Linked DNA regions of Homo sapiens: all the other regions are linked to region 1. The links are contacts of gene promoters, found by promoter capture Hi-C in blood cells and fetal thymus (Javierre and others, 2016). All regions are on one chromosome and are shown on one strand. The core of a region is centred on a gene start or on the middle of the fragment in contact, and the rest is flanking DNA. Distances in the headings are between cores, read along the strand shown.

Region 1 (3,278 bases), core at 562-3,061:
AAAAAAAAAAAAAAAAAGTTGAAAACAAAGTTTGATACTTCTAATATTTGGAATTAGTCACAACATATAGGCATTTACATAAATTTCATTATTTTAATGCTATTTTTCTTCCTTTCATTATAATCCTCAATGACTGCCTTACCTCTGCCTACCCTTTGACTTCATAGATTATACCATTATCCCTTTCCCTCAATGGGTTCCATCCATACTGGCCTCCTTCCACTCAGGCTCTGTCCAGCCTGACACTCTTAGCCCTTCCTGTTCCCTCTGCTCAGAATGTTTTTTCTTTTTTATTTTTTTGAGACAGAGTGTTGTTCTGTCACCCAGGCTGGAGTGCAGTGGTGCGATCTCAGCTCACTGCAATATCCACCTCCTGTGTTCAAGCGATTCTCCTGCCTCAACCTCCCGAGTAGCTGGGACTACCCGCGCGCGCCACCACGCCCGGCTAATTTTTGTATTTCTAGTAGAGAGGGGGTTTTACTGTGTTTCACTGTGTTGGCCAGGCTGGTCTCAAACTCCTGACCTCGTGATCCGCCTGCCTCAGCCTCCCCAAGTGCTGGGATCACAAGCGTGAGCCACCGCGCCCGGTCAGAATGTTTTTTCAATAATTATTCTTTGAATGGGTCCTTCCCATCATTCAGGGGACTCAACTGTCAATTTCCAAAGAAAGATCTTTCCCAATCATCTGACTTTACGTAGCCACCCTCCAGCTTCCACTTATTTTGTTTTGTCTTCAAAGCATTCCAGAACAATACTACCTGCTGTGTTTGTTTCCCTACTATGCTTCTCCCTAGAATGTGGCGTCCATGAAAGAATGTGGATAAGAACTTTCCTGGTTCACAAAGTTAAACCCAAGGCTGAGGTCATACATGACGGGGGCTTGTAAATATCAACTAATATTTTAATATAAATGAGTCTGAAATCAGGACACTTCTGGGTTCAAGTCCCCGCTGCCACTTTTTAGCTTCTGAGTGACTTGAGGCAAATGATTTCGCCTCTCTGGACCTCTTTTTTCATCTGTAGCTTGGGGATAACACTGACTAACATGGCCACGCTGAGCACTGCAAATCTAGCCTGATTGCCAGTCAGAATGCACGCCCGGCCTCGCTGTTTCAGGAGGGCTGTCCTCCGGAGTTCAGCAAGGTTAAAGGCAAACCTCTGCCTCCACAGCCTGGCAGGGGACTGGTGGCAGGATGTCAGCCCTCCGTTTCAGGGGTCTAAAGGAACACAGATTTCGTTTTTGGTGGAGAAAGGACAGAGCCAGAGGCTGGGCAGCGAGCGGGGCCTGCTCACCGCTTGGAGATCTCCTGGTAGCGTAGCTGCAGCTTCCCCTGCAGGTCATGCTGTGGGAAGAGGAGAGGAGAGGTCGGCCTGCAAGGCACCCCAGGAGAGAGGAAAGGAGAGGGCAAGGGACCAGGGATGGTCCGGGGATGCGCATTTTAAGGGAAGGCAGGGGATGAACACTCGGGGAAACGGATGTGGGTCCTGCAGGTGAAGAGCAAAGCCAGAGTCCGGGCCCACAGATCCAAGGCTAAGAAGGTCGGGGACTGGGGAAATCCCAGGCCTGAGTGGTTCCCAGGCCAGGAGAGGGTCCCGGGCTGAAGGGGTGACTAGCTGGGGGTTCCCAGGGAGATTCGGGGAGAGCGAAGGGTCCCGGCTTAGGAGGGAGGTGAGGAGCAGGAGCGGGTCCCGGACACACGGAGCCCGAAGCCCCCCATGGTGCAGCCCTGTCCGCCCCGCGCACCCCGGACGCCCAGTTCCGCAGCCGCTGGATGAGACGGGTGGCGGACGCCATCTTCCGTCCGCGATACTGAAGGGCGCAGCCGGTGACGTCTCCACCGCTGGGGCTGCTGGGAAAGACGCGGCGTGGTATCGCGAGACGGGAGTGGGCGGTGCTAGAACGTCCTATAAAGGCTCTCCCCGAAGCACGTGACTCCTCTCCGCCAGACCGCCGCCGCGCCGCCATCATGGACACCAGCCGTGTGCAGCCTATCAAGCTGGCCAGGGTGAGGTGGGGGCCCGAATTTGGGGGCAGGGGGAGGGATTAGAGGAGCCAAACGGGCCGGGTCTGAACCCAGCTTCTTTCCTCCAGGTCACCAAGGTCCTGGGCAGGACCGGTTCTCAGGGACAGTGCACGCAGGTAATCGGGTGGGGGCATTTGGCCGACTGCCGGCGACCTAAACCCTGATGTGACCTCTACCCTGCCCTAACCCCTGCCAGCCGGAATCCGGGAGCCGATTCTCATTTCATCACGGGGTTCTGATGGTTCCCTTTAACGATCTGTATTCTGGCCCCGACACGTTCTCTGAATTCATATCTGCTTCCCACTCCGCGGTGCCTTTCCGCGGCCCGCCCTTACTTCTTCCTCCACTCCGGTGGGGACCCGTAGGTGCGCGTGGAATTCATGGACGACACGAGCCGATCCATCATCCGCAATGTAAAAGGCCCCGTGCGCGAGGGCGACGTGCTCACCCTTTTGGAGTCAGAGCGAGAAGCCCGGAGGTTGCGCTGAGCTTGGCTGCTCGCTGGTGGGTGCAAAGAGGACACCCCTTTGATAGACCTTTGGTTGGTGGTAGGGAGGCTTCGTTAAGCCCAGGGTGAGAGGGTTTGGGAGGCAGAGTCTACATACAGAGACTGACAAGAGGGAGGCGGGAGTTTGCCAATTGCTGCGGGGCCTGTCAACATCTCATGTTTGGGTCTGTTTACAGGGTCTTGGATGTCGGGTTCGACCACTTGGCCGATGGGAATGGTCTGTCACAGTCTGCTCCTTTTTTTTGTCCGCCACACGTAACTGAGATGCTCCTTTAAATAAAGCGTTTGTGTTTCAAGTTAACTCAGGTTCTTGTCTGGGTTATACGACTAGGGTTTCTCCAGGTTTCTTGAGTGGCTCCCAGGCGGTCACCGATCCTCCGCACTCTGGAAATCCTGGCCGTGCGGTCTTGCCAAACGAAGCTTTTCCTTTTTGAGGCGGGGGGTCGTGTTTGTCGATTGCACCCTCTACCCCAAACAAAACACAAGCGTAGTAGGAATGTTTTATTAGCAAAGAAGTTTCAGAGAGTGGGTGGATCAGGGCTCTATCACTTGGTCCCCACCTCACCTTGGTGGGGCCAGAGTGAGCCCCTTCCTGCCACAGTCACCCCAACTGAAATTGCCTTTCTCTTCGGCCAGTGTTAGCCTCTGAGCAGGGGACCCTGGACCCTTCTGTGCGCCAAAGGCTGAGGTGACTGACGAGGAGATCTCCCCACAGCTAGGTGTAGTGAGCCAGACGAGGCAGCTTA
Region 2 (3,278 bases), core at 309-2,808, 380 kb before region 1:
AGCCTGGCCAACATGGTGAAACCCTGTCTTTACTAAAAATACAAAAATTAGCTGGGCAGTAGTGGTGTGTGTCTGTAATCCCAGCTACTCGGGAGGCTGAGGCAGGAGAATCGCTTGAGCCTAGGAGGCAGAGGTTGTGTTGAGCCAAAATCGTACCACTGCACTCCAGCCTGGGCAATGGAGTAAGACTCTGCTTCAAAAAACAACAACAACAACAACAACAAATCAGCTGGGTGTGGTGGCGGGCGCCTGTAATCCCAGCTATCCGGGAGGCTGAGGCAGGAGAATCAGGAGCTGGAGGTTGCAGTGAGCCAAGGTCACGCCACTGCACTCCAGCCTGGATGACAGAGCAAGACTCCATCTCATAAAATAAAATAAAATAAAATAAAATACCAGCACCATCACCCAGTTTCCACCAGGCTCCACTCAGAGGGCTACAGCTGGGAGCTCTCAGGAGCGCTGCATCCCATAGCTGGTGTGCATGCGTTGCCTGGGGGCCTGTGAAGATGCGGGCGCTGGCCTGGCAGTTTGGGAGGGTGTGAGCCTCTGCACTGCTCATCCACTCCCAGGAGGAGCCACTGCTGCTGGTCTGGGGACCACGCTTCAAGCTGCACAGAACGCTGCATGGTCTCATGGCAGAACCCAGAGGCCTGGAGACCCGCACCTGTCCCCTGGCTCCCTCTCATTAGTGCATCAGAGCAGTGACCTCACTTCCTCACGAGCCACCCTGCCCCCAACCGTCCAGCCCTGAGCTCCTCTGGCTGTCCCTGGCCTGGAGAAACCCTGGCCCTGGAAACAAACATGTCAACCAAGAAAGGTAAGAAGCAAAGGGGCCCAACGCGGTGGCTCACGCCTGTAATCCCAGCACTTTGGAAGGCTGAGGCGGGCGGATCACTTGAGGTCAGGAGTTCGAGACCAGCCTGGCCAACATGGTGAAACCTCTTCACTACTAAAAATACAAAAATTAGCTGGGCGTGGTGGTGCGCGCCTGTAAGCCCAGCTACTCAGGAGGCTGAGGCAGGGGAATCACTTGAACCTGGGAGGTGGAGGTTGCAGTGAGCCGAGATCGCACCACTACTCTCCAGCCTGGGTGAGGGAAAAAAAAGCAGCAAAGAAACTCACGTATTTCCTTCTGGCCTCCTGGAGCACGTCTGATTCTTCTAGCCTTCTGGCCTCGTCACGGAATTTTTTTATACTTTCTTTCATTTCTTTGTTTTTGGCTAATTCTTGTTTGACATTATCTAGCAAGCCGGACAGAAAGCCTTTTCTGTTTCCAGAAGAATATGATTTGGACTAGAAAGAATGTACAAGAAAAAAAATTTAAAGAACATAGTAGAACATAGAATGAAATGCCCCACAGAGGGACTCAGGGATTTTTTTAAATGTTCTCTTTTCGGTTGATATACATTTAATGATGATTAGCTATCTCTTTTATAATAATCATAAAAAACAAAGAAACAGCAGGTGATAAAAGTGTGGTATATCCAGACAACAGAATATTATTCAGTGCTGAAAAAAAAATGAGCTCTCAGCCACTTTAGGAGGCTGAGGAGGGAGGATTGCTTGAGGTCATGAGTTTTAAGACCAACCTGGGCAACACAGCACCCTATTTAAAAAACAGGCTGGGCGCGGTGGTTCACGCCTGTAATCCCAGTACTTTGGGAGGCTGAGGCGGGCAGATCACCTGAGGTCAGGAGTTCGAGACCAGCCTGGCCAAAATGGTGAAACCTCATCTCTACTAAAAATGCAAAAGTTAGCTGCGCATGGTGGTGTGTGCCTTTAGTCCCAGCTCCTCAGAAGGCTGAGGCACAAGAATTGCTTGAACCCAGGAGGAAGAGGCTGCAGTGAGCCAAGATTATGCCACAGCACTCCAGTCTGGGTGACAGAGCGAGACTCCATCTCAAATAAAATAAAATAAAATAATTTAAAAAACAAGCAAGAAATATGCTCTCAAGCTGTGAAAAGACACAGAGGAACCTTAAATGTATATTGCACTAAGTGAAAGAAGCCAATCTGAAAAGGCTACATACTGTCTGATTCCAACTATAGACCGTTCTGGAAAAGGCAAAACTAAGGGGACAGTAAAAGATCAGTGGTTGCCAGGGGTTTGGTAGGAAGAGGGTGAGATGAGTAGGGGGGAACACAGAAAAATGTTAGGGCAGTGAAACTACTCTTATGATACTGTAATCACAGAGAATGTACACCACCAAGAGGGAACCGGAAGGTAAACCATGCATTTATTAATAATAATGTATCAACATCCTGTCAATTGTGACAGATGCTCCACACTAATGCAGGACGTGAAGAATAGAAAACTGTGTGCCAGATGGGAGAGGAGGGGCATGGCAACTCTTTGGACATTCTGTTGGATTTTTCTGTAAACCTAAAACTGCTCAAAAGATAAAGCCTTGTGAAAGCAAAACAAGGCCGGGCGCAGTGGCTCCTGCCTGTAATCTCAGCACTTTGGGAGGCCAAGGTGGGTGGATCACTTGAGGTCAGGAGTTCCAGACCAGCCTGACCAACATAGTGAAACCCCCGTCTCTACTAAAAATACAAAAATTAGCTGGGCGTGGTGGTGGGTGCCTGTAATGCCAGCTACTCAGGAGGCTGAGGCAGGAGAATCACTTGAACCCAGGAGCCGGAGGTTGCAGTGAGCCAAGATTGTGCCACTGCACTCCAGCCTGGGTGATGGAATGAGACTCCATCTCAAAAAAAAAAAAAAAAAAGCAGGCTGGACACAGTGGCTCATATCTGTAATCCTAGCACTTTGGGAGACCGAGGTGGGCGGATCACTTGAGGCCAGGAGTCCGAGACAAGCCTGGCCAACATGGTGAAACCTTGTCTCTACTAAAAATACAAAAATTAGCCAGGTGTGGCGGCGCCTGCCTGTAGTCCCAGCTACTGAGGCAGAGGCAGGAGAACTGCTTGAACTCGGGAGGTGGAGGTTGCAGTGAGCGGTATCTCGCCCCTGCACTCCAGCCTGGGCGACAGAGTGAGACTCTGTTTCAAAAAAACAACAGAGAAACAGTTTAATGAATGATCATACAATAATCCAATCAGGCGGAAGGGGCCGCCTGTGGTCAACTTTTCCACAGCTGTGTTGGGTATACCAGCTCCAGGTGGGATCCCCCTCCCTGGCTCCTGTCAAGCTACAAGAGAAAGCTGCATCCAGCCTGGTGCTCAGGCCCCGTGGAGTCACACACCTGTGGTCCCAGCTACTCAGAAGGCTGAGGTGGGAGGATCGCTTAAGCCCAGGAGTTCAAGGCTGCAGTGAGCCG
Region 3 (3,278 bases), core at 426-2,925, 360 kb before region 1:
ACATGGTCATGGTCAAAGAGGTGGCCCCAAACCAACGGAAAAGGCTTCTCTTCTGGTGGAAGAAAAATCCAGTCCTGTCAAAGTCTCCGTTAGCCTAACTTAGGTACTGGCGGTGACTTACAAGTGAGAAAAAAAAAATTTGTTTTTTTAAATGGCCAAGAAAGAAACCTGAACGATGTCACTGAAAGGTTGTAGAAAAATAGGATCCAGCCATTAGAGGTCAGGGGAAATCAAAAAGGTTTGGAAATGTGAACCCTGCCTGGGATCCGAGATTCAGATTCTACTGCCATCATTACACGCCAATTGCCAATGCCACTTAAAAGAAAGCACTTGTGACTTCAGGGCTGTCTTGCGAAGTTTGGGGACAGGAACCCCTGACCCCCAGAGTCAGCTAAACCCCAGGGGTCTCTGCTAAGGAGCTGCCTCAGGTCCTAGTAGGTGAGGTAGGTCTGGGGAAGATGGGAGGGGATTGAGGTGGAGGGTGGGGTGGAGGGACAGGATAGAGGCCTCCTGTCAGCTGAATTCTTATTCTCTTTCATCCAACACAGGAAGGCTGCGAAAAGCACATGGAAATAAAAGGGGGCTGAATCGGATGTGAAATGTAACAGCTGAGTGATGTCAATTTCGATTTTTCAAGTCCGATGCCGGACTGGGTAAGTCATGTCTTTTCAATGCCTGGTGGACAAATGGCCTTCATTTGGAAGCAAACCGGGTCAAGGAATTGCCACTAACCGTCTTCGGGTGCTTCTATTTCTCTGATCCAGCAGGGACCCCTGGGCTGCCGGCTCCAAAGGGCCGGTCTTGGCTCCCAACAGCAGCACGGTTCAGTCCCTGGAGGCTGGGTCTCCAGGACTAAGGCCAAGCGCAGACTCTCAGAGGTTAAGGCAGCTGCCCTTGGCCAGGAAAAGGCTCACCTTCCAGGAGAAGGTGGCGGAACCCACCCAGCACCACCTGCGGGCGGGCCCCCGAGGAAGCCCATGAATTTCAGGATATTCACGCAGGATGGTGGCCGGGGAGGGGACTCAGCACCCGGGAGGGAATCAGTCACAGAGCTGCGACTAGAGGCACAGCCAGCACAGAAAACTGCGGCTTGGCAAATTACACTGAAAACGAAATAATGGCAGAGCCAAGGGGGAACAAGGGAGAATTCATCAGGAAGCAGGTTCACAAATTCGGAGCTGCCTGGGGTCTAACTACCAGAGGAAGTTACACACGGGTCAAAAGGGAATTCAATCAAAGCCTCTTTGGTATTTCCCAAACCAGATTTTTGATAAATGAACATTATCTACTCTGAACGCTTTTTCATCGAAATTCCCAAATAAAAGCAGAGCACTCATTTTTGCTAAATAGAAATACAACTGATCTATGTAAAATTTTTTAAGAAATGGTTTCTTTTGGGTTGAGCCTTTTTTAAGAAAAGGGATCTCCCCTTTGCAAACAGGCCTTGATAAGATGTAATGAACTTTGAGGACACAGGGCCAGCAACTAGAACCTTGATGGAACAGAGATTGCTTTTCAGGAGTGACAGTTGTTAAGCTAAATCCTTCCACAAGCTTGCAAGCTAAGACTCCCAAATAAAGGCTTTGGAATTTTTTAGCTAGAAGGCTGTTCAAACAGCGGAGACCACATACAATGAGAATGTTCCTGAACTGAGAAACTTCAGGGAACTTTCAAAGGCTCATATACTTCACAGTTTCTTCTCACCTGTCCCAGCATCAGAATAATTGATAGGATTCAGATAAAAGGGGGCGAGGAAAGAAGCTGAGGTGCTACAAGCCCGTCATCATTTTCACAGTTGAAGCTTAAGACAGAGTTCTCTGTTGAATGCTAGCTATGGGCATGTGTGGGAGTGAGACTCCAGGGGGAGTTTCAGAAGCGGGAATCCCGCCTTCCATCAGAAGGGTGTTGGCTCCCACCTTCCATCAGAAGGGTGTTGGCTCCCACCTTCCATCAGAAGGGTGTTGGCTCCCACCTTCCATCAGAAGGGTGTTGGCTCCCACCTTCCATCAGAAGGGTGTTGGCTCCCACCTTCCATCAGAAGATGCTGGCCCAGGGAAACCTGAAAGGCTTCTTTTTCCAGGAAAGCATTCTGGTCCCAGGATGCAGACTGCTCTCGGGCAACAGAGCAGGGACCCTCTTTTGTGTCGAATCCGGGCAATGGGCCTCGGTTTTGGCTTTTCCTGAGGATCTGGGATTCTGTGGGAGAAAGGAGGTCCTCTCTGGCACCAGGCCGACTTTTATGAGACACAGCCTGGGTACGGATGGCAACATCATCAATTTGCAAGGATCGCGCACACAGCCCCTCAGTAAAAGATCAGGGAAAGGGGAGGGGATGGGCATCCTCAATTGTCCAGGGGCCTCTCGAGACGCTGACCTGCTCTGGGGACGGTGGTGCCTGCCTATTGCTCAATTTCACACTTCAATAAATAAATACATAAATAGGTATAAATAAACAGATAAATACAGCCATCATCTCATGAGAGCAATAACTAAAAAACAGCCTACGGTCACGTTTTAGTCTCACGTCAAGGTTAAAAACTGCTGGTACTAAGTTATCCTGTTTGTGATTCTCTCTGTAAACTAGTTATTTATAAACGCCAGATCCCAGTCCTGAGGAGTTTTGGGTGATCTGGCCCTGCCTATTTCACAGGCTTTCTCTTTCACCCTTCCTCCGGGCTCCTGGTTTAAAAGCCACCAGCCTGTAACTGCACATTCTTGCGTCACAGATTCAGAAATGCTTTTGCTTGAGGCAAGGATTGGTTTCTTAAGATCTTACGACTCCTCCCTGAATGCTGGGCCACCTGCACCTTCCCTAGCCAAAAAGAAAGAAAAGGTAAAATAAAAAACAAAACAAAATTCGAGCAAAACAAAATCAAATTTAATGGTCTTAAATGCAAAAGTAAAAACAAACAAAAAACACAAAAAAGCAAAAGAAAATTAACAGAACAGAACAACCCAAAATGTCAAGGCAGTTATGAAGAGAACTTTGAGGGTTAATCTTTAAAACTACAAATCAAAGGTTTTGGTTAATAGATAACTGGCAAGAAGTAAGTACTTTTCTGCTGAGTGTTCATACAAAAGCAAAATTCCAAAACAAAATCCGACTAAAATAGAAAAAGGTCTAAGCGCTCACGAGAAGGGATGCGAGAAATACAATGCTCAAATGTTTCTGTGTTATTAAAATACAGAGCCATTTTACGCCTCCAAGCTATGTTAAATGCTCTGGAAAACGGGAGAAATTATCGTGAACAACAGTATCCAATGTGTGGGGCGCTGTG
Region 4 (3,278 bases), core at 356-2,855, 320 kb before region 1:
AGAACACTTTTTTTTTTTTTTGAGTCAAAGTCTCACTCCACTGCCCAGGCTGAAGTGCAATGCCATAATCATAGCTCACTGCAGCCACAAACTCTTGGGTTCAAGCAATCCTCCTGCCTCAGCCTTCTGGCTAATTTTTTATTTTTTGTCGAGATAGGGTCTCACTATGTTGCCCACGCTGGTCTTGAATTCCTGGTGTCAAGTGATCCTCCCATCTTGGCCTCTCAAAGTATTAGAATTATAGGCGTAAGCCACCTCACCCAACCCAGAACCCTTTTTTTTTTTTTTTTGAAATGGAGTCTTGCTCTGTCACCCAGGCTGGAGTGCAGTGGCATGATCTCCGCTCACTGCAAGCTCCACCTCCCGGGTTCATGCCATTCTCCTGCCTCAGCCTCCCAAGTAGCTGGGACTACAGGCGCCCGCCACCATGCCCAGCTAATTTTTTGTATTTTTAGTAGAGACGGGGTTTCACCGTGTTAGCCAGGATGGTCTCCATCTCCTGACCTCGTGATCTGCCCATCTGCCCACCTCGGCCTCCCAAAGTGCTGGGATTACAGGCGTGAGCCACCACGCCTGGCCCAGAACACTTTTTTTTAAGCTCTCAAAACAGAAGCAGGCTAGTGTGCTGGCTCATGCCTGGAATTCCAGCACTTTGGGAGGCCGAGGTGGGTGGATCACCTGAGGTCAGGAGTTTGAGACCAGTCCGGCCAACATGGTGAAACCCCATCTCTACAAAAATACAACAAAAAAAAAATTAGCAAGGCGTGGTGGTGGGCATCTGTAATCTCAGTTACTGGGGAGGCTGAGGCAGGAGAATCGCTTGAACCTGGGAGGCAGAGGTTGCAATGAGCCGAGATGGCGCCACTGTACTCCAAACTGGGCGATAGGGCCAGACTCCATCTCCAAAAACCAAAAACAACATAATGAGCAAACAACCTGGTTTCAAAAATGGCAAAAGATTTGAACAGATACTATACCAAAGAATATATATGGATGGCAGACAGGCACATGAAAAGATGCTCAACATCATTAGTCAAATTAAAACCACATCGAGACACCGCTACCCACTTATTAGAATGGCTAAAGCAAAATAAAACAAAAAACAACCAACAGCAACAAAACAGACAATGTCAAGTGCTGGCAGGGATGTGGAGAAGCCAGAATATTCATGCACTGCTGGTGGGAATGCAAAAATGTGAAATGTGACAGCCACTTTGGAAAACAGATTGGCAGTTTCTTATGGTGAAATATACACTTAGCATGGGATCCAGCAATCCTACTCCTAGTATTAAGGCAATAGAAAGGAAAATCTATATTCACACAAAAATCTGTATATAAATGTGCAGAGCGGCATTATTCATAATCATCCAAAACTACAACAACCCAAATATTCTTCAAGCCATTCATGGATAAACTGGGATACACCATACAACAGAATACCACCTGGCAATAAAAGGTATCACCAATTCATGCTACTTGTGTGAATCTCAAACACATCTTGCCACATCATTTCTGTGCCTTCCTGGAAAAGGCAAAACCATAGGGATGGATCTGTGGTCGCTGGGGTTAGGGAGTGAGGGGAAAAGTCGATTACACAGGGACAGGAGGAGGGAGTATTTCTGTTTGTGGGAGAGCGAACTTTCCAATCTTTATTATGGTGGTAATCAAACAACTTTATCCGTTTGTCAAAACTCAGAGAACTCTACTCGAAAAAATGAATTTTCCTACATGCAAATTTAAAAATAAATTGTCTGAGTGTGGCGACTCATGCCTTTAATCCCAGCGCTTTCAGAGGCCAAGGTGGGAGGACTGCTTAAGCCTGGAGTTCAAGACCAGCCTGGGCAGCACAGAGAGATGCCATCATTACAAAAAAAAAAAAAATTAAAAATTACCCAGGAATGGTGATGCACACCTGTATGCAATCCCAGCTAATCGGGGGGCTCAGCTGGGAGGATCACTAGAGCCTGGGAGGTCAATACTGCAGTTAGCTATGATTGTGCCACTGCAGTCCAGCGTGGGCGACAGAGTGAGATCCTGCCTCAAAAACAACAACAAAACCACAATAAAAATAAATTTTAAAAGGTTTAAAAAGAGAACTTCTGCTTTGCGGCCCTGTTCCTCCTGACACTCTGAGTCAAGGCTGAGCAGCCCCTGCAGGTCAAGTTCTTGGTCAACTAGTAACACGGGAGAAACCAACAACCTGCCCTGCAAAGCAGTTTCATGACGTTTCTGGGCCCCCACCCCACTCTCTGGAGGCCCTTCCCTTGACCTTCTCCAAATCTGCATCATCAATCCTGGGCCAAATCAGCTTCTATCCCACAAGCTCCAACCACAACTGGGCCTTGTCACCACTCAATTATCACTGACTCCCAAGTCGTAGCCACTTCTGTCTCTCGAGGTGCAAGGCCTGCACTGTCCTGCAATCAAGATGCTCACCCCTCTGGTATTCCCTGTCAGTGGTCACCACCCATTGAGGCTCGGCGGTCACACGATGATGCTCACGGTCAGGCATGCCATTAATAAGTGGCAGGGCCAGGCCTCAAGTTGTCATGACAATGCAACTGTCAAACTGGCAAGGCCCTTCACAATCGGACCCAGGTGGTTCTCCAGCCTCAGTCGCCACCCTCCCTTCCCGCTCACTCCAGCTTCTTGCCAATATGCTACAGGCCTCTGCTTTGGCTGTTCCCTCTGCAGGGCACTAGTGTCCTCTCCTTCACTTCCCAGCTCATTTTTTAAAATTAGTATTTTTTTTTAAAGAGATGGGGGTCTCTCTTTGTTGCCCAGGCTGGTCTTGAACTCCCAAGCTCAAGTGATCCTCCTACTTTGGCCTCCCAAAGTGCTGGAATTGCAGGTGTGAGCCACCATGCCTGGCCTCCCAGCTCACTTCTATTTTTACTTATTTTTCTTTTGAGAAAGGGTCTTGCTCTGCTGCCAAACTAGAGTGCAGTGGCATAATCACGGCTCACTGCAGCCTCAAACTGCCTCAGTTTCCCAAGTAGCTGGGACTACTGGTGTGTGCCACCATACCTGGCTGATTTTTAAATTTTTTTAGAGACAGGGGTCTCATTTTGTTGCCCATGCTGGCTTCAAGTCATCCTCCCACCTGGGCCTCCCAAAGTGCTGGGATTATAGGTGAGAGCCACTACACCAGGCTGGCTCATCTTTAAAAAGCTACCTTCCTGGCCTGGCGTGGTGGCTTATGCCTGTAATCCCAGCAATGTGGGAGGCCGAGGTAGGCGGATCACCTGAGGTCAGGAGTTTGAGACCAGCATGGCCAA
Region 5 (3,278 bases), core at 278-2,777, 270 kb after region 1:
CCACGCCTGGCTAATTTTTTGTATTTTTAGTAGAGACGGGGTTTCACCATGTTAGCCAGGCTGGTCTCGAACTCCTGACCTCAGGTGATTGACCCGCCTCGGCCTCCCAAAGTGCTGGGATTGCAGGCATGAGCCACCTCATCCGGCCTAATTTTTGTATTTTTAGTAGAGATGGGGTTTTGCCATGTTGGCCAGGATGGTCTCGAACTCCTGACCTCAGGTGATCTGCCTGCCTCAGCCTCCCAAAGTGCTGGGATTATAGGTGTGAGCCACTGCACCTGGCCACATGGAGTCTTTCTTGAGAGAGAAGGTCTGGAAGGGATCAGGGTTTATAGAAAGTGCTAGCATGTGGATTCTCTGAAGACCTGGTTCCCCCCAGCTGGGAGGCTGAAAAGTCCAAAGCTCTCACTGCCCTCTAAAACACCCCCTCCCCAGTAAACTTCTCACTGCTCACTGATGGTTGCAGGTCAGCTGAGGGCACAAGCAGAGGACAGACACCTGTCACTGGGTTTGGTGAGAGGAAGCTTCAGCTACAACTTTGGGGGATGACAGAAGGCAGGGGTAGGACTCTTCAGGGGAAGTTGGGCTGTAAAGGGAGGGGAGAGACTGGATGGTAGGGGGTTGTGAGGGCCAAGCAGTGATTTCAAGGTGGGGGCTTGTAGTCTAAATGTAGGAGGAAAAGAGAGCTGGAAGGAGCCAGGTCTTTAAGGAGGAGGGGTTGGGGACGAGAAGGTGGTGGGGGTCAGGGAGAGGAGGGAAGAGAGGGGTGGCGGCTGCAGGTTCCCCAGGAGGCAGCAGGTGCCTGGATGAAGCACTCTGATAGCGTTTTTGTTTTTTTTTTTTTTTTTGAGATGGAGTTTCGCTCTGTCACCCAGGCTGGAGTGCAGTGGTGCGATCTCGGCTCACTGCAGCCTCCGCCTCCCGGGTTCAAGCGATTCTCCTGCCTCAGCCTCCCGAGTAGCTGGGATTACAGGCGCCTGCCACCACGCCCAGCTAATTTTTGTATTTTTAGTAGAGACGGGGTTTCACTATGTTAGCCAGGATGGTCTCGATCTCCTGACCTCGTGATCCGCCTGCCTTGGCCTCCCAAAGTGTTGGGATTACAGGCGTGAGCCACGGTGCCCGGCCTCTGATAGCTGTTTTTAATGCTTCCTCCCCCCACCCCTCAAGGGGTTTGGGGGAACTCACATCCGTGTTGCAGGAGCGGTGCCGCCTTCTCTCACCCAGACAGTACTTGCCCCCGATGGTTGGCCTGGAAAGGGTGGTGGGATAGGAGAGGGATGAGGCAGTGGGCGATGGGGGCAGGGGTCGCGCTGCCCTCCCGGGTGGGGGTCCTGAGGGCTGACCTGGGGCTGTCGCAGTGACGGCTAGAAGAGGACACGCCGCCGCCACAGGTCCGGCTGCAGTCGCCCCATGGAGTCCACGGCCCCCAGGCTCCGTCCACACCCTCTGGGCGCGACCCAAAGGGGACACAGACCCGTTTGTAGCACCACTGGGTGGGGGGAGACAGGAAGGAGTGAGTCCAGCCCGGAGGACACTCGTCGGCCCCATGCACCGTTCCCCACTCCAGGCCCCAGCCAGAGATATCAGCCTCTCCGGGATGGGCAGAGGCGGGGTCTGAACATGCGAACAGAGTCAGGTTACGTAGGAGAGTGGTCTGGGAGACAGACCAGGTACAAGCGAGAGGCGTGGCCTGAGCACAGGGTGCTTAACGGGGAGGGGTGTAGACAGGACCACGATAAGCGTGGAGACGAGGTGGGGCGTGGCTTCAGGCTGGGGAGGGGAGGTCTACAGGCAGTAGGCGTGGCCAGAGCCGAGGGCAGCACAGGGGATGGGCGTGGCCAATGAGGGAGAGAGCAAACAGTAGGCGTGGCCAGAGCCGTGGGAATCATTACACGGTGGGCGTGGCCAACGCGGGAGGGAGTTAAACAGTAGGCGTGGCCAGAACCAAGGGACGCATAGACGGTGGGCGTGGCCAACGCGGGAAGGAGCAAGCAGTAGGCGTGGCCACAGCCGAGGGAGCACAAATGGCGGGCGTGGCCAATGTGGGAGGGAGCAGATAATAGGCCGAAGGACAGGCGGGTAGGCGTGGCCAACGCGGGAGGTGGCTCAGGGGGCGTGGCCCAGTTGGGGGCCCTGGCCGGCGCTCACCCCCTTGTCGATGGTGTGCGTCTGGCACAGCGTGCCCTCGGCGGCCGGGATGCTGTTGGTGATGCACCGGTTGCTCTTGCTCAGACACCACAGCTCGCTGCAGACCTCCTGCGGGCCGAGGTGCCCGCTCAGGCTCGCCCCCCTCCCTTCCTCCCTGGGGCAGCCCGCCCGGCTTGGGAGGACCCAGATGTCCGGCTCACTGCCGGTCCCAGAGCAGAGAGCCCGGTGCTCCCTTCCTGGCTCGCGGTGGGTCTTCGTGCATCCCCTTGCGGGGCATGGCCTGTGACTTATACTCTCCCAATAAGCTCCATTTATGGAGCACTTTATACATGCCATATACCTCTTTAGGCAGTACTACCCCATCTTACTGGGAGAAAACCAAGCTTCAGACAGGTAAGGTCACACAGCTACTAAGGGAATAGCCTGGAGTTTAACCCAGCTCTTTAATTCAGAGTCTGTGCTCTAACGAACTTTGCAATTCAGTTCCTGGTGCCTTCTGAGTTTCTGGAAGGAAACGTGGGAACTGCTGAGGAATGAACAGGAAGGATTTGGGGTTCTTTTATGGGATGGGCAAAGTAGCCGAAGAGAAAGTGGTGGTTCTGAGAAATCGGCCTGGATGATGACTAGGCCAACGGCCTCATCTCTAGTTTTTTCCAGCTGTTGGTTCTCTTTGTTCCCCCATCTAAACTGGAGAAGCCCCCAACACTTTTAAGCTATGTGGAGGGGTGGGAGTTTGGGAGGGGACAATGCCGAGTTAGGTCTGTGTGGGACATGCCTCTCTTTCTCCAGGTGAAAAATCAGCCCCACCTTCTTCCCGTCTGAATCCTGGATGGGCTGAACTAGTCCCAGGGACTCACTCTGACTCTTAAAGTCCAGGTTAATATCCCTGGAGAAGCCCCAGTGAGTTCAGGTGAAGCAAAATCTCTGACCCTCTTGGCCCACATCCTAAGCAACCTCCCAGCGTCTTTCCTCTAAAAAGTAGGTGGTCCTCTCTGACCCTCTTGGCCCACATCCTAAGCAACCTCCCAGCGTCTTTCCTCTAAGAAGTAGGTGGTCCTTCTGTAATTATCAAGTGTAATCCCCGCTTTGAACCCAATTCTTGTAAGCTTTCCAGATGTGGGACTGGA

The links. The method cuts DNA at HindIII sites, captures the fragments that hold promoters and counts their contacts. A CHiCAGO score of 5 or more calls a contact.
Region 2: a fragment that was not itself captured here is called in contact with the fragment with the promoter of NDUFA7 in region 1 in 2 of 17 cell types (naive CD8 T cells and naive CD4 T cells); the score reaches 5.5 in naive CD8 T cells.
Region 3: a fragment that was not itself captured here is called in contact with the fragment with the promoter of NDUFA7 in region 1 in 1 of 17 cell types (erythroblasts); the score reaches 5.3 in erythroblasts.
Region 4: a contact is called between a fragment that was not itself captured here and the fragment with the promoter of NDUFA7 in region 1, in 1 of 17 cell types (naive CD8 T cells). The highest score is 5.8, in naive CD8 T cells.
Region 5: a fragment that was not itself captured here is called in contact with the fragment with the promoter of NDUFA7 in region 1 in 3 of 17 cell types (total CD4 T cells, naive CD4 T cells and naive CD8 T cells); the score reaches 6.2 in total CD4 T cells.

Annotation. Positions count from the first base shown.
Region 1 is chr19:8,319,564-8,322,841 of GRCh38, forward strand. It overlaps NDUFA7 (NADH:ubiquinone oxidoreductase subunit A7), which reads right to left and starts at 1,812. Exons shown (of 4, transcript NM_005001.5): 1 at 1,745-1,812; 2 at 1,294-1,343. The coding sequence starts at 1,795. RPS28 (ribosomal protein S28) reads left to right here and starts at 1,933. Exons shown (of 4, transcript NM_001031.5): 1 at 1,933-2,006; 2 at 2,093-2,140; 3 at 2,390-2,528; 4 at 2,709-3,278. The coding sequence starts at 1,968. The coding sequence ends at 2,512. It overlaps KANK3 (KN motif and ankyrin repeat domains 3), which reads right to left. Exons shown (of 11, transcript NM_198471.3): 11 at 3,021-3,278. The coding sequence ends at 3,276. RefSeq lists enhancers at 1-899, 900-1,867, 1,722-1,961, 1,868-2,835, 2,836-3,278. The HindIII fragment of the contact is 9,773 bases long and covers 1-2,950 here.
Region 2 is chr19:7,936,905-7,940,182 of GRCh38, forward strand. TIMM44 (translocase of inner mitochondrial membrane 44) reads right to left here. Exons shown (of 13, transcript NM_006351.4): 3 at 1,123-1,293. Among named protein-coding and RNA genes, the nearest start is that of TIMM44, 5.1 kb to the right of the region's middle. The HindIII fragment of the contact is 6,740 bases long and covers 1-3,278 here.
Region 3 is chr19:7,959,417-7,962,694 of GRCh38, forward strand. It overlaps ELAVL1 (ELAV like RNA binding protein 1), which reads right to left. Exons shown (of 6, transcript NM_001419.3): 6 at 1-3,278. Among named protein-coding and RNA genes, the nearest start is that of TIMM44, 17 kb to the left of the region's middle. The HindIII fragment of the contact is 248 bases long and covers 1,552-1,799 here.
Region 4 is chr19:7,995,910-7,999,187 of GRCh38, forward strand. All of the region lies in intron 1 of ELAVL1 (ELAV like RNA binding protein 1), which reads right to left. Among named protein-coding and RNA genes, the nearest start is that of ELAVL1, 8.1 kb to the right of the region's middle. The HindIII fragment of the contact is 4,520 bases long and covers 1-3,278 here.
Region 5 is chr19:8,590,612-8,593,889 of GRCh38, forward strand. ADAMTS10 (ADAM metallopeptidase with thrombospondin type 1 motif 10) reads right to left here. Exons shown (of 26, transcript NM_030957.4): 13 at 2,152-2,259; 14 at 1,347-1,492; 15 at 1,189-1,252. Among named protein-coding and RNA genes, the nearest start is that of MYO1F, 15 kb to the left of the region's middle. RefSeq lists an enhancer at 1,190-1,788. The HindIII fragment of the contact is 2,010 bases long and covers 523-2,532 here.